Regions from separate parts of the Homo sapiens genome. Here region 2 is linked to region 1. Evidence: promoter capture Hi-C in human tissues and cell types (Jung and others, 2019). All regions are on one chromosome and are shown on one strand. Each heading gives the region's core, a stretch centred on a gene start or on the middle of the fragment in contact. The rest is flanking DNA. Distances are from core to core; before and after follow the strand shown.

Evidence for each region. Contacts are between HindIII fragments. The study calls those that stand out against the background at their distance.
Region 2: a fragment that was not itself captured here is called in contact with the fragment with the promoter of OR56B4 in region 1 in 3 of the 25 tissues and cell types used here (bladder, neural progenitor cells and thymus).

Annotation. Positions count from the first base shown.
Region 1 is chr11:6,105,995-6,109,925 of GRCh38, reverse strand. OR56B4 (olfactory receptor family 56 subfamily B member 4) reads right to left here and starts at 2,242. Exons shown (of 1, transcript NM_001005181.2): 1 at 1,091-2,242. The coding sequence starts at 2,147. The coding sequence ends at 1,188. All of the region lies in intron 2 of LOC124902622 (a long non-coding RNA gene), which reads left to right. The HindIII fragment of the contact is 6,854 bases long and covers 1-3,931 here.
Region 2 is chr11:6,220,277-6,224,207 of GRCh38, reverse strand. FHIP1B (FHF complex subunit HOOK interacting protein 1B) reads left to right here. Exons shown (of 12, transcript NM_001098794.2): 3 at 1-598; 4 at 970-1,128; 5 at 1,311-1,397; 6 at 1,599-1,766. Among named protein-coding and RNA genes, the nearest start is that of FHIP1B, 12 kb to the left of the region's middle. The HindIII fragment of the contact is 7,709 bases long and covers 1-3,931 here.

The DNA of each region.
Region 1 (3,931 bases), core at 993-3,492:
TGTACTCAAAAAGTGTGCAATTTTTTTAGGTGAGCAAACAGCAAAAATTCAGTTAGCTTTAATTAACAGGTTATTTGAAACTATTTTTATAGGGCATTTTCTAGGATCCATTTTCTTCCTTTCCTAGCAAGAAAACTGCCACATAGTTAGATTTATATTTCCATGTGTATATCTTATTTCAAAGCATGTATTCTTTATCTCTTTTGATTGTCACAGCATGTTTGCGATTTGGCTCAGCAAAATGTTATGATTTTTGTCACTTTTAATCAGAAGAATTGAAACATAGGGAGGTTTCATAAGTTGTTCAAGTTCACACAGAAATTTTGGAACAGAGCAAGACTGAGAGTAAGAATAGTGCTATGGTTTTTCAATCAGACTTCCCAGGACTTGAATCCCAGCTCTCCCACTTAGAAACTGTGCTGTCAGGGGGCAAGTTCTATAATTTCCAGTGCCTGAGTTTTCTTAGCTGGAAATTGGGAATAATATTGTACCTGCCCAAAGGGTTATTGTGAGAATTGAGTCAGATAATCTACATACATATTTTATCAAAGTTTCTGGCCTACAAGAAGTATTTAACACTTGTTAACCATTAATTCATTAATTATTGAGATTTTTTTGGGTACGAAAATTAAACTTTACTCCTTTTTAATAAACATTTATTGTTTACTTTTTATTATAAAAATTACATATGAAAAGCACATAAATATGTAAGAGTTAAATATGTGTAAATATTAAAGGCTTTGTTTTCTATTATTAGTCATATTATAATGATTTTTATGAATAACTTTTTGACTGCATTTAGACTATTTCTTTTGGATATTTTTCTAAAATAGAATTACTGGTTAAGAACATTTAAACATTTATAAACATTTTGATAAATTTTACCAAATTGCTTTTTGGTGTGTTTATAGTCCTACCAGTTGTGTAGGAAAGTGTTAATCTCGGGGTAGGCTAGCAGTAATAGTTAGAAACATTTCACTTTTTTGTTCTTACTTATTTTCCAGGTAATAGGAAATTTTCTTGTAATTTTAATATACATATTTTGATTAGTGAGGCTGACAGTTTTCATGATTTTATTGGCCATTTTTTTCCTAGGGAGTGTGGTAAGTGCAGATTATAACCCTGATCTATTGAGAACTAAAACCTCTGTCATTTCCTAACATCTTACTGGATTCCTAAAGCTGGAGTTACTTGGACACGTCCTGACCCAGTCCAAGCAGTCTCTGAAAGCCCAGTCTGAGTTTGTGCATCCTGAGTGCACAGGCCAGGGGGTTGAGTGCAGGGGGGATGACATTGTGCAGCACATTAAGGAACACAGGAATAAGGGGAATCTTTTTCTCTGCAAGGTGTGTGACAGACAGCACAATGATACCTGTGTGGAAGAGGATGAGGATGAGGTGGGAGCTACAAGTGCTCAGAGCCTTGGACATTGCTTCTGCTGAGTTCAGCCTCAGCACAGAGTGAAGGATTACAGCATAGGAAGAAAATACCAGAGCCATATCACTCCCAACCAAGACCCATGCTAGCATCAGTTGGTAAAATTTGTTCACAGTGATGTCATCACAAGCCAGGCTGATAACCCCCAAGTTAGAGCAGAGGCAGTGCTCGATTTCATTCCTGGAACAGTAGTGTCTCTGGGCAGCCAGTATAGGCACTGGGATGGTCAACAGGCCATTCCTGAGCATGATGAACCCTGTGGCTTTGAAGACAAAAGCTTTAGTGACTATGGAGGGGTACTGAAGAGGGCGACAGATGGCTATGTATCTGTCTACTGCCATGCAGAGAAAGATGCCTGACTCTATGCAGAAGAAGCAGTGGATGGCATAGATCTGAGCAAAACACATGGGGAGGCTAATGGCCTTGGCATCAAACCAGAAGATGGCCAGGATCTTGGGCATGATGGTGGTGGCCAGGCCAATGTCCACCACTGCTAATATGCCCAGCAAATGGTACATGGGTTCATGTAGCACGGTCTCATGTTGAATGGTGATTATGATGAGGAGATTGGCACCAAGAGCTAAGAGGTAGAGCAGAGTCAGGGGCAGGGAGAGCCAGTGCTGCCACTCATGAATGCCTGGTAATCCCATCAGGATGAACTGGGAAATCTGGAGGCTGGAGTCATAGGTAACACTGGTGGAGGTATCCATGGAATGGGTGCCTCAGTCTCAGTGTCTGTCTGAAATAGAAGAAATCTCTGTTTAAAAGTTCAGCTAAGGGGCTGAGCATCGTGGTTCATGCCTGTAATCCCAGCACTTTGGGAGGCTGAGACAGGCAGATAATTTGAGGTCAGGAGCTCGAGACTGACCTGGCTAACATGGCAAAATCTCATCTCTGCGGAGAATACAAAAATTAGCTGGGTGTGGTGGTGCCTGTCTGTAATCCCAGCTACTTGGGAGGCTGAGGCATGAGAATCATTGAACCTGGGAGGCGGAGGTTGCCGTGAGCCGAGATTGTGCCACTGCACCCCAGCCTGGACAACAGAGTGAGACCCTGTCTTAAAAAACAAAACAAAACAAAAAGTTAAGTGTCTTGGTAAGAGCTCCTCAATAATGAACCAGCTCCTTTTATTCATGAATGACCCTCAACTTTATTTGACTTCTGGAAATATTCCACAGAGGAATAACAAAAAAAGCAAAAAAATTCTAAACAGAAGAGTTGGAATAACTATTTTTCATCACCACTTGTATGTCTAATAAGCATGTCCACATATATTAACAACAGTCTTATCACTAACAGATAACAAATGTTAGTATTTGATTTATTTCCAATTTTCTATTTTATTTTTAAACAGTCTACATCATTATCTAGAGATGATTTTGTATCTTGTTTTTGTCTTTTAGCAGTATGTGTTAAGATGTAATATAAGCACTCAAAAATTTTATTTCATGGATGAATACATTAACCAAAGACTTCACAATATTATTTAAAAAGTGTGATGTTAATTTTAATTGCTGCTTTAAATTTTTGCATTTGGCTATTCTATAATTTACTGACAGGTATTTTGCTTTTAATATTGTTTTCCTTGAGTAGAGTTTCAAAAGTGATGCAAAAATTATATATACAAAGGATATAATAGTCTTAAAATTTTAAATATAATTTTGATTTTATTTTAAGATATATTATCTATACATGGTAAAAATCAAAATAAAATGAAAAATATAAACAATGAAAAGTAAGACTCTCATGCTTGGGGCTTTGAAATCTTTTTCCTTTTCACTAGAGGCAGCCAGTAATATGTTTCTTGGGAATCCTTCCATTAATAGTTTATGCATGGATAAAAACATATATATATATATATATATATATATATAATTTTCATAAAAGACATAATCAATTGTTAGCACACCTTTCTCCTTTTTTCTTTCCTTTTCTTTTTTAACTTAATATTTTGAAGACTGCTCCATATTTCCATACTGCAGTTAAGTTGCATTATTTTCTACCACCTAGATGCCCTATAGTTTAATGATTTTTTTTTGTATTTTTAGAATTGATATATCATATTTGTAGATATTTTGGAGGTACATGTGATATTTTGATACATGTATACAATGTGTAATGATCGAATCAGTGTAATTAGGATATCCATCACCTCAAGCATTTATCTTTTCTTTGTGTTAGGAACATTGCAATTCTCTTTTAGCGATTTTGAAACATACAGTAAATTATTAACTATAATTTTCCTACTGTGCTATTGAATACTAGAACTTATTTCTTCCACCTAACTGTATTTTTGTCCCCATCAGCCACCCTCTATTCTTCCCCTACCCCCACCCTTTCCGGCCTCTGGTAACCACCATTCTATTCATTACTTCTGTGAGATCCACTTTTTTTCTTTTTCCGGCTCACTGCAAACTCCACCTCCCAGGTTCAAGCGATTCTCCTGCCTCAGCCTCCCGAGTAGCTGGGATTACAGGTGTGTGCCACCACACCC
Region 2 (3,931 bases), core at 775-3,274, 110 kb before region 1:
TGGGGGTGCAGACGATCTCAGTGCTGTGCGCAACCACACTTACCAGATGTTGACACTGCTGGCAGAGGACCGTGCAGTTCCCTCGGCCCCCACAGGCCCTGGGCCCCTGCTGGAGTTTGCTCTGCACGAGGATCTGCTGACCCGTGTGTTGACATGGCAGCTGCAATGGGATGAGCTTGGGGATGGGGTCGAGGAACGGCGGGCTGAGCAACTGAAACTATTTGAAATGCTAGTGAGCGAAGCTCGCCAGCCACTGTTGCGGCATGGTCCAGTTCGTGAGGCTCTGCTCACCCTGCTGGATGCCTGTGGCCGCCCTGTGCCCAGTAGCCCAGCACTGGATGAAGGCTTGGTGCTACTTCTCAGCCAGCTGTGTGTTTGTGTGGCCCAGGAGCCTTCATTGCTCGAGTTCTTCCTGCAGCCACCTCCTGAGCCTGGAGCCGCTCCCCGTCTTCTTCTCTTTTCTCGCCTTGTCCCTTTTGTGCATCGAGAGGGCACCCTGGGCCAGCAGGCCCGTGATGCCCTACTTCTTCTCATGGCTTTGTCAGCTGGGAGCCCCACTGTGGGCCGCTACATCGCGGATCACTCTTACTTCTGCCCGGTTAGCACCCCCTGGCTTGGAGGGTAGGGTGTGGTGTGTAGATACTGAACAGCACCTTCCTATCCAGGAGATGGGGAGAGGCTATGTTCCAGGGCCCGTTCCCCTAGGAAACAGTTCCTGGATTTGAAAGCAGCCCCCTGGAGTTGTAGTGGGGATGAATCATGGGCTTAGATGGATAGGGCAGATACTAAGTCTCTTTGTAGGCCTGTGAATTCTAGGTGAGTTTCAGGCACATTGGGTAGGCAAATGCTTGCTTTGGTAATAGCTTATACCCCTATTCCCATCAAAACTCTGGATTACTAGCTCCCCTGTTCCAGTTTTTATATTTTATAAATGTATTTTATATATGAGCTTTTGGTAACTTCTCATAGGTGCTGGCCACAGGGCTCAGTGCCCTGTACTCATCACTGCCTCGAAAGATTGAGGTTCCAGGGGATGATTGGCACTGTCTGCGACGGGAAGACTGGCTGGGAGTGCCAGCCCTTGCACTCTTCATGAGTTCCCTGGAGTTCTGCAATGCAGTAATTCAGGTAGGACTGAAAGTCTGGCCCTTGGTCATTTTTGGGAGATTAGGTAGGAGGGGGTATATTCCCTGGAGTTCTGTCATTTTTCCATCTTGGAAGTAGGATGCCTCTCTGTAGTGTACTATTCTACTCCCTTCCAGGCAGTGGTCTCCTCATAACCCTCCCCCTTCTCTCTGGCACTCCTACAGGTGGCTCACCCCCTGGTGCAGAAGCAGTTGGTTGATTATATCCATAATGGGTTCCTGGTGCCTGTCATGGGTCCTGCCTTGCACAAGGTGAGAGTCATGGGTGGCAAGGCATATAAGGGGCTAAGCTGCAGTGGTAACCTCAGTGACAGGACTAACGTAGGAGGCGGTGGGTAGAGTACTCCTCCCTTTTGCCCTGTCTGCTCCTGATTTCTCTTAGAATCCAGGGAAAATGGCCCTGTATGTGCAGGGAAGCTGTGCATTTCCAGACTTTCCCTTCTTTTTGTGCAGACCTCTGTGGAGGAGATGATCGCCAGTACCGCCTATCTGGAACTTTTCCTACGGAGTATCTCAGAGCCTGCTTTGCTCCGTACCTTCCTGCGATTCCTGTTGTTGCACCGGCATGACACCCACACCATCCTCGACACCCTCGTTGCTCGTATTGGCAGTAACTCCCGGGTATGGCCCTTACCCCTGTCCTAGCTTACCTGGATGACCCATCTTCTTTCTCTGACCTTTGTTCTGGGAGGGTATTCCTGCCCTTCTTTTGCCTGTATCTCCAGCAGTCACCTCAAAATTAAGTGGCATTAACTTTCCAGCATTAAACTTTTAACCATTTTGGGTACAGATTTTAATCTACTCCCCTGCTTTTATGATAGATGAATCTAGAACACAGTCACCTTTTCTGGATGACTTTGGCTGTTCATCATGACTATAGGTTTTGCTACTGTGCAGTGTTCGTAATGTAGTATTGGCCTGAGTTCTCTTAAACTGTTTATCACTCTGTGGCCTGCTTTGGGTGACTTGAGAGCACTTTAGGTTGTGTGTCTGCTTTGGTAGGTGATCCAGGTGCTACTGATATGCTTGCCTTCTTTCTCCTTTGGATTTGCTGCTTTTGAACTATAGCTTGGAGCACTCATCCACCCACCTATCTACTTTCGGTCCTTCCTCCTAAACATTTTTACTGAATGTTCACTGTGTGCCATACTGTTTGCTGGTGCTGGGGATACAGTGATAAATAAGGTAGACATTGTTGCTGACTTCATGGAGCTTACTTTGTAGAGAAGACAGACAAGCAAACACATTAATAAGTTGTGGTCAGGGTTATGAAAAAACTAGAGTGCTTAGAAATAATAGGGTGGCCAAGGAAGACCTCTCTGAAGAGATGACATTGAACTGAGACATAGAGATTATAAAGGAGTTAACTTATTGATCAAGTAGAAGAACAGGAAAGCAAGGGGAACAGCATGCAAAGGACATCAAATGGGGGAAGAGCTTAACATGTTTGAGGAAATGAAAGACTAGAGGTGTAGTGAGCAAGGGGAAGAAGGGAATGAGATAAAAATAGAGGGGTAAAATTCAGATCATGCATGACCTGGAAGACCATGGCAAGAAGTTTGGATATTAACAAATAGAAATATATATAACATGGGAGTGGGTGGTTTCCAAGTTATAAAGACTTAAGCCCCTCTAGGAGAATAAAGCATTAATTTTGCCATGGACTTCATGGCATTTATTTTGCCTCTGGGACCATTTTTGCTTCCTTTTTTTATTATAAGTTAAAGTTTCCTGGATCCATGTGTTTAAAATAGAAGTTCTTTCATCACTAAGAGCTCTGGAAAACTTCTAGATAATGAGATACTAGATAGTAGAGTTCCAGGTCAGTTTCCTGGATAGCTGTGTTTTGTATAGGTGCAGTTTCTGAAGCTAAGTTAGGGTGTATAAGAAATATTCCAGACTGACTGATTAAACCAGTGTTTCTAAACCAAGTGTATACTTTAGAAACGTCTGTGAATCTTTGAAGATGACAACTAACAACTACAACAGATTCTGAGCTCTACCTCAGATTTCGTGAATCTTTGGGAGTAGGCTCAGGACATGTGTATTTTTAAAATTTTCCAAAAAGTAATCATGATAGATGCCTTGGGTTAAGATTTATTGGAACCAATAGGGAATAGGTATTAAAGCTTTAATTTTACAAAGATACCAAAAGTATTTTTTTTCCCTCATTATGCTGAAATTAGGCCATGATTGGCCTCATATTGTCCTGTTCATGTTTAGAGACAGTTGATTTTCTTTTTGAGGTTTTATCTGTTGTTTCTTCCTTTTGTCTTATCCTAACTTTGATTCTTACTCACTATCTTTCATTTTTTTAGTAGTTGTTTCTATTAGTCTCCCATTTGGTCCCCTGGTCTTAGGAGCCTTACATGTTCTTGGGATGTTTCTTCTTGGTTCCTGGTTCTTGGAGGAACAGATCTCTTCTAATTTCAGGATGCCCGTGTTAAACATGTAGATGCTTTCCTTTCCACTGTGGTCCTTTCAAGCTTGATTCTTTGGCTTGACTTTGTAACGTATATAGCCTGCCTTGTGTGCCTTGAAGTGACTAATTTTGGCTAACCAGCCTGTGTTAATTCCGTATTGCTGTCATAACAGATTATCAAACCTAATGCTTAAAACAGATTTATTGTCTTACAGTTTTGTAGGTCATATGTATGACCTGGATCTCGCCAGGCTAAAATCAAAATTTTGGGGGGTGGGGTCTGTGTTCCTTTCAGGAGGCCGTAGGACAGGATCCATTTCCTTATTTCTATTGGCAGAATTAATTTTCTAGCAGTTGTGGCATT